Linked DNA regions of Homo sapiens: regions 1 and 2 are each linked to region 3. Evidence: promoter capture Hi-C in 16 types of primary human blood cells and fetal thymus (Javierre and others, 2016). All regions are on one chromosome and are shown on one strand. Each heading gives the region's core, a stretch centred on a gene start or on the middle of the fragment in contact. The rest is flanking DNA. Distances are from core to core; before and after follow the strand shown.

Region 1 (2,730 bases), core at 211-2,710, 120 kb before region 3:
CTGTAGTCCTAGCACTTTGGGAGGCTGAGGTGGACAGATCACTTGAGCCCAGGAGTTTGAGATCAGCTTGGGCACCATGATGAAACCCCGTTTCTACAAAAAATACAAAAATTAACCAGTTTCATAATCAAGTCTCAAAATAAATAAATAGATGAACATTTTTTTAAAAAAGCATAGAGAAGGGAACTCTACAACAATCTATTAACATTGCTAACTACAAGGGGTTGGAGTTAGAATGGAGTGGGAGAGATTATTGATTTTTTACTTTACTTTGTTGTTTAGCATATTGCAATGCATGCGTTACTTCCATAATTAAGAAAATCTAATACACATTTTTATAAAAATTCAAGGTGTCCTCAGATATGTTCAAGCCCAAAAGAATCTTATACCTGGACCCCCCAGTCCCTAGCCCCTGGTAAGTATTTGCAAAAAATGTTGGATGAATGATGAAATGAGGAAGAATGAAATGTTTAGCTCAATATCTCATTTCTTGGATGGTTTGTAAAGCTTTCAATAAAACAGGAGCCTTGAGGCAGTTGGTCATTAATGAATAACTCATCATCAGAGGTCTGGATTGAATATTAAAGCAGTCCCAGCAGTCAACCGTGCCCCTTGTTAAACATGGTCCCTGCTGCAACTAGTCTAGGTCCAGGCTCATATTCTAGCTGACAGCTTGGAGAGGAGTGATAGTCATATTTCCTCACGTAACCATCCTCATTTTTAGGGTTGACAGTTCTGCTGCTGCAATGACAGGGAGGTGGGTGGGTGAGTCCTTTGGGTGTTGCTGGGATGTTAAGTCCTGGGGTTGTGACTGGGGAGAGTGATGTCACCCTTGATAATTTCTGTAGACTCAGGCAGAGCGGCTCACTAAGATAAAAACCTCTTATAAGTAGGTTTTTCTTTCTTTTTAGTAAACAGGTTGCTCATCACTCTTCGACAGCTCTGACCCCTTGGCTGCAGAGTGGGTGCTGGGTGTTGGGAGAGGGGCATGCATGGAGGTCCTTCTTATCCCATGTCTCATCTGATTTTTCTTCAGTCTCCTCCTCCTCACTTTCAGAGCAGAGAGTCCTTATGCGCCACTGGGACTCCCCATGCCCTTCCCTGTCTGTCCGTGTCTTGCTGAGCCAGGCAGACTCCTCGCTTTCCAAAGTGACAGTTCATTTTCAGATTCCCTGTTCACGTTTCCATTTTGCAAGTGACAGAGACCAGTGTGTTATTCCTCTTAAGTAGTGTAGCAGGAGCCTCTGGGAAGGAAACGTTTAGCCAAATGACTGACTCTAACGGAGAATTTTCAGGTATTTTGGTAGACCAAGGGATAGAATAATTTAGGGATAGAATAATTTAGGAATAGGTTGAAGTTCCTGTTGCTAAATGACATTCCCCACCCTCCACTCCCCCGACTTTTTTTTTTTTGGAGACAGAGTCTCACTCTGTCACCCAGGCTGGAGTGCAGTGGTATGATCAGGGTTTACTGTAGGCTTGACCTCCCGGGCTCAGGTCATCCTCCCACCTCAGCCTCCCAGGTAGCTGGGACCACAGATGTGCACCATCATGCCTGGCTATTTTTTTTTTTTTTTGTATTTTTTTGTAGAGACAGGGTCTCACCATGTTGCCCAGGCTGGTCTTGAACTTCTGGGCTCAAGCGATCTCCCCAGTTTGGCCCCCCAGAGTGCTGGGATTACAGGTGTGAGCCACCATGCCCGACCCATTTTCCCCCTTTTTATAAAAGCGATAAGTGTTCAATTCATACCACTTGCAAAACGCAGAAAGACACAGAAAATTGAACAGCACATTCCTCCATAATCCCTTTAGTCAAGATGACTCATCGCAACAGATACACACACAGTGTAAATATATATTTACAAAAAATATACTTTGTATATTCTTCTGTAGCCAGTTCTTTTCACTTAGCAATATCTTGTGAGTATAGTCCCATAACTATAAATATTCATCTATACTGTGAGTTTTTTTCCAGTTGGAAAAATTTCAAACAACGCAAAACATAAAAAACAATTAAGATCTCTATTATTGCCATCCTCAGGGATAACCATTATCACTTTAAAAATATTCTCTTGCCTTTTTTTCTATGCGTATGCACACTAGAATCTAATCCCTATACAGATGCTCCTCAATTTACAATATGGATGTGACCCCATTGTGAATCAAGGAATGTACTGAATGCCTATTGCTTTCTCACCATCATAAAATGAAAAAATCAAAGCATCATAAGCTGGGGACTGTCTGCAGTGTCCTGGCTTGCTTTACCTACCCTTGTGTCCTCAGCACCTTGAAGAAGGTCTGGCATGTAGCAGATGCTTGGTAAATATTGTTAAATGAATGCAAAATTATAAATGCATATTTAGTAGGGTTCCTGGAGTAGAATCTGCTTCTACGTTTTTCCCCCAAAGCTTGTAAAACCCTCATTTAAAATGTTACATGTATTTTCTGTTTTCTGGGAAGGGGACTGGAGTTTACCTTTGAGCAGGACCATCCCTTGATTCTGGGTGTGAGCACTTGGTGAGAAGAAAATAAGCAAAATAACTATCCACGGTTCTTGGGGATGCCCTGAAAGCTCAAATACTGAAGCTGCAGATGGAGCAGTTAAGTATTCTAAAGGGAACCTAAAGCAAACTGTGTTTGTTGGTAGAACATGCCCCTGCAGGGTTGGAGCAAAATCTGTTTCTAAACTTAGAGTTTGGCTGCCCCAGGCCTGAACGCACTTGTTTGCTC
Region 2 (2,700 bases), core at 183-2,682, 73 kb after region 3:
ACATGGTTTCCACTCTTCTTCAGATTTTCTTATCATGCTCACATGCAATTTCTTTCCTGGGAGCTGCCACCACTTGAAAGTTTGTCCAAATAACAGCCTATCTTCACCTAGTCAGTCTTTTCAGAAAACCATCAGCCTGTATGCATTTATGTGTCTTACTTTTGTTCATGTCTTTCTCTTTCTTCACCTGAATTAGAATCTCCAGAAGGGATAGATTGAAATTATAAGCATCCCAAAGGAAACAATGGTGCCTAGGCATAAAGGGTATTTCAGGACCACGGATAAAGCCCTTGACACAGTAGACACGGTATGTCTATCACACAGCCCATGGAGGACAAATCTGTTGCTTAATTTTCCTCTCTGTAGAGCACTGTTTCATCGGGAAATGGATAAGTGGTTAAGAGCTGGAGTCTGGGGTTAGCACGTCTCAGTGTCACTCCACCCCCTCTCACTACTACCTTCTTGACACAGCCTCTGTTTCCTCTTCAGTAAAATAAGAAAAATAAAAGTGTCTAACTCCTAGAGTTGTTGGGATTAAGTGGCATGGTAGGTTGAATTACTGGCTCTAATTCTTCATCCCTACTTGTTTTCATGCCATATGACATGGCAGTTCATTCTGCTGGAGTCAGGGTATATTTCCCCATTCCTTGATTTTGGGTTTGCCATGTGACTTGTTTAGCTAATGGGATATTAGCAGATGTGTTACAAGCAGAGGCTACAAATGTGCTTAGAAATTCTCTCCTGTGCTTTTGTCATTGTCATGAGCAAAGCTTCCCCCAGGTAGTAACTGCTTCTTCAGCTTGAACCCCAGAACCAACCTACATGGAAAAATTGGAGCTCAACCTTTAGTCTGCAGCATAAGACCTGAAGTCCAGCCTGGCCCTGCCATGTTGTAGCACACACTTAAACCTGCAAAATAAATGATTGCTGTTTTGAATCACCGACCTAGGATGGTTTGCAATGCAGAGTTATCAAGACAATAGCTGGCCAATACAAATAAGATAAAGCATGGACAACACTTAAAACAGTGCCTGCAAAAAGTAAATGCACCATAAATTTTGGCTTTCAGGGACATCATTATCAGGAGCAGACAGAAAGGTCAGTGGTGCATTACCAAGGTCTGTCTGTCCAACCTCAGGCAAGTTATTTAACCCACACTTGTTTTCACTTTCCTCATGTACAGAATGAAAACAAGAATACCTCTTCTGAGTATGTTTGAAATAATCAAAAAAGGTATGAACCTAAAACAGTTTTGGAAACTATAAGTTGTTCGACAATAAAGGCAATGTGGTCAGGTGTTCCTAGCACATCCAATGAGTTAGAAACAACACTCACATTATGAAATCAAGTTGAGAGACACAACCAGTGCCATAGGGAGCAACAGCCATTAGCTGAAATCAACAAGCTACTAGCTTTAATCCAATTTGTCAACAATACACCTTCTACTGATTTGCTGCCAATTCCCAAGTACAGCCTCTGGCCTCACCCAGAGGCATCCACCGGTGTGGTGTACTTTTAGCATCAGGAGAAGAACCAAATGGTTCCCAGCAATCTGCTGTAATGACTGAGAAAAAATGTTTTCATGAACACTGTTCTCTTGGGGTAAGGAGCTACCACCTGCAGGTCTCCTTGGAAAGGTAACTAAGTTACTAAGAATAGAGGCACATGAATAGTTATCCCTGTTTAAAACAGATTAGCAAGCTGTCCACCAACTGGGAGAGGGAATGAGGCAGAGGGTAGATGTGTTTTGATGGTAAGAATGAGGTAGGGTAGAGAGACAGAAAATACAAAGCATGAATCCATGCCAAGGAGAAGGGAATTGAGAGAATGGGAGAGGATGGGAGAAATGGACAGTAATGTTCTTTGGAAGCCACTGGCAATTAGGAGACCTTGATATGCCTGGGTTCACAAGAGCATGTGAAATTTAAACAAAGATCTCTTAAATAGACCAGAAAAAGCACAAATTAAAACAGAAAAATTGAGAAGTTGAACTTTGTTAAAATGAACATTTTTTGCCCTTCAAAAAATACTGTTAAGAAAATAAAAAGGGAAGCCATCGACTTGATGTAAATATGTATATTCAGTAAAGCTTGTTATCAGAATATGTAAATAATGCTTACAACTCATTAATAAGACAAACAACCAAATTAAAAAACAGGCAGAATATTTGAACAGACACTGCACTAAAGAAAATATAGAGATAGTAAGTAAACATGTGTAAAGATGTGCTGTATCATTCCTTATCAGAGAGATGCAAATACAAACCACAATGAAATGTCACTCAAACCCACTAGAATATCTGAAAGTAGAAAGACTGACAATTCCATGGCTAGGCATGGTAGCTCATGCCAGTAATCCTAGCTACTAGGTGGGAGAATCACTTGAGGCCAGGAGTTCAAGACTAGCCTAGGCAATATAGCAAGACCCTGTCTCTACACAAAAAGTAAAAATAAAAAATTAGCCAAGTATGGTGGCATAAACCTTATAGTCTCAGCTACTTGGGAGGCTGAGATGGGAGGATCACTTGAGTTCAGGAGTTCAAGGCTGCAGTGAGCTATGACTACACCACTGCACTCCAGTCTGGGCAACAGAGTGAGACTCTAAGAAACAAAACAAAACAAAACAAACAAAAAACCAACCGACAATAACAAGTGTTGGTGAGAATGTGAAGCAACTGAACTTTCATACATAGCTGGTGGG
Region 3 (2,700 bases), core at 171-2,670:
AAGCTCACTGAATTAAAGGATTGAGGATGGTGGGGAGAGGTCGGTGGGGTTCTAAGGCTGATCAGACGATGAGGACATAGTCCTCCACCTGCCCAAGACTTTGAGGCCCAAAACACAGGTTTCTCTCCTTCTCTCCCTCCCTCCCCATCTCCCTCTCCCTTCACCTTCCCCTCCTCCCCATTACCTTCCTCCCTGCCCTCCCTTTTCTTCCTTTCTTTCTTCTCCTCCCTTCCCCTCTCTTCCCCTCCCCTGCCCTTCCCTTTTCTTTTTCTTTCTAAAAATATTATTTTAGGCAGTCGTAGGCAGTCTTGGCTTTGGAATCAGACAGACTCAGATCCAGCCATGGCTCGGTCAGCATGAGCTTGGCGCCCTGGGCAAAACGACTTCTGCTCTGTGGCCCTAGCATCCTCATGTGTAGAATGGGCAAGTGATGCCCCCCCGACGTGGGTGGTGGTTCACACGGCTTACTCCATGGAAGCACTTGGCACAGGGGCCCACATGGGCACTTCTGTTATTTCTTCAGTCTGGAGGCCAAGGGTGGGCCTCCGAGCCAGACAACATAGTTGGAATCCCAGCTCTGTCAGCTGCTGGCGGTGTGGTCTTGAGCAAGTGACTTAATCTCTCTGTACCCCAGTTTCCTTATTGGTAAGACTGGAGTAGTAATAATTCCTGTTATCTAGGGTTGCCGTGAAGAGTAAGTACGCATCGCCTAGCACGCTGCCTGGCTGTCGGTTGTTTTGATTATTCCACTAATGATGGTGACCACACAGCCGATGAACCAGGCACTTAGCGCCTGGTTAGGGCAGGGAACAGAATACAGTTCTTTCCCTACAGAGTTCCTGGTGCAAGGAGTTCTCGGTGCAAGGAGAGAGACATCTTAACAGGCAAGGACAGCACTGCATCAGTGAGGTGATGGGGTGACCCTGAGGGGCACAGCAGCCCCCGAGGGTTGGGGAAGGCTTCCCTGGGAGGTGACCTTCAACCTGAGACCTGAAGAGGCAGTAGGAGACCATCGGGCCACGAATTAGGGCAGGAATAGCATCCAGGTGGGAGGAACAGCGTTGCAAAGGCCCAGGGTGAGAGGCAGCCAATCTCTCGGTCAGTGTGGAGCTTGAGCCCCTCACCGGGAGCAGAGGCGCTTGCACTTCCCCCAGCAGCCGGGTGCTCAGATGTGCTCCCTGTTTGCGCTCAGTGGGCACGGCTCCCCGGCTGCAAGAGGCTGCCAGAGGGGCGGGTCGTCCCCAGCGGGCCCCCGCCGCCACCCACAAGCCCAGTCCCCGGCTGGTAGGGGCACCCTCCCCTCGCAGCCCCCTCTCCACGCAGCTAGCCGCCCCCGCCCTAGGTCAGCCCAGTTTCCTGCCCCTCCCTCCTGCTCTCCTCCCTCCAGCTGTTTCTCTGGCTGAGTTCTGTCCCAGTCCCATTCAGGGAAGCAGCCCCGGCGGCCAGCAGGGAGCTCAGGACAGAGCAGGCTCCCTGGGAAGCCTCCGGGTGATAGGGGTGTTCCAGCTGCGGCGCTCTGGGGGTTCAGAGGGGGATCTTGAATGAACAAATGAATGAACTGCTTTCTGGGCAAACAGCCACAGCCAGAGGAGCCTGTGATTGGCAGAAAGAAGCCAGGGTGTGCAAGTCTCCCCAACAGCCTCGAGTGGCCTGCAGTCACAGGGAACCCTCAGGAAGACCTTCCGGGCAGAGACCAGAGGGAAGGTATCATCACACACTTGCCTTGGGTGTCTTCTGAGGGGGGCCAGGGAAGGGGAATGAATACTAACAGAGAGAAAAGTTTGTTTCTTTTTATAATTTCATATTTGTTAAAAGGAAGAGTTTTGTTATTATTTTCAGATGTCAAAAGTAATGCATGTTCATTGTTTAAAGAAATAGCAAGGATACACAACTAAATATATGAATGTGGATTTCCACATCTAGTTTGGTAACCTGCTTAACCACAGATTGTGAACTTTTTTCCATATCACCTATATTCTTCCAATATACATTTTTCATGGCTGCATAGAAAGGCTATCTTAAGATTATTTGACTTTTCCATAATAGATTTGCTTCTTTTTTTTTATTAGAACAGTGCTGCAATGAATATTTAGTATGACATCTTTGTGTGTGTGTCTTATGAATACCTTTTAGAAATTGCTAGATTTAAGGTTTGCCTATTTTTAAGACTTCTGAGCTTTTGGTCACACTGCACCCTGGAAGGCCGTGGCAGCTTGACCTCTCTACGATGTTATACCAGGGCACAGTATTCTCACATACTAAACCCACCTTGTTGCTACCCATCCCTTAAACTTTCCCTGATGTGAAGTCGAGAATAATATCTAGATGCTTCAATAGGCATTTCATTTCTTTGTTAGTGTTGATTCTCTTTTATAAACTTATTTTTCACATTTCTAGTCTGACTCTCCTGTTCAAGTCTGTTCCCATTTTTTTCTCCTCTGGGGGCATGTTTATCTTTTTCCAATTGATATCTAAGGGTTCTTTGTATATAAAGGACACAAAACCTTTGCCGGCACTCTCTGTTGAAAATATTCCACTCCCTCCTCTGTCTTCAGAATAGCCCATTTTAAATGGGCAAGCCAGCTTTGGCAAAATTATAAGCATTACAACATCAGGGAACTACTACTTGATATAAGCCCAATCACTCAGACCTGTGCGGTTCAGAGATGCCAGATCACTGGTCTGAGGTCACACGCCTGA

What was found. Contacts are between HindIII fragments. The CHiCAGO score rates a contact against its expected background, and 5 or more counts as called.
Region 1: a fragment that was not itself captured here is called in contact with the fragment with the promoter of CMKLR1 in region 3 in 3 of 17 cell types (M0 macrophages, M1 macrophages and M2 macrophages); the score reaches 6.1 in M0 macrophages.
Region 2: a contact is called between a fragment that was not itself captured here and the fragment with the promoter of CMKLR1 in region 3, in 1 of 17 cell types (monocytes). The highest score is 6.1, in monocytes.

Annotation. Positions count from the first base shown.
Region 1 is chr12:108,459,315-108,462,044 of GRCh38, reverse strand. It overlaps LINC01498 (long intergenic non-protein coding RNA 1498), which reads left to right. Exons shown (of 4, transcript NR_120483.1): 3 at 351-415; 4 at 2,461-2,620. Among named protein-coding and RNA genes, the nearest start is that of LINC01498, 13 kb to the left of the region's middle. The HindIII fragment of the contact is 1,901 bases long and covers 510-2,410 here.
Region 2 is chr12:108,265,243-108,267,942 of GRCh38, reverse strand. No RefSeq gene overlaps it. Among named protein-coding and RNA genes, the nearest start is that of CMKLR1, 73 kb to the left of the region's middle. The HindIII fragment of the contact is 1,319 bases long and covers 773-2,091 here.
Region 3 is chr12:108,338,031-108,340,730 of GRCh38, reverse strand. CMKLR1 (chemerin chemokine-like receptor 1) reads left to right here and starts at 1,420. Exons shown (of 4, transcript NM_001142343.2): 1 at 1,420-1,704. RefSeq lists a silencer at 1,137-1,256 and an enhancer at 1,364-1,987. The HindIII fragment of the contact is 6,306 bases long and covers 1-2,700 here.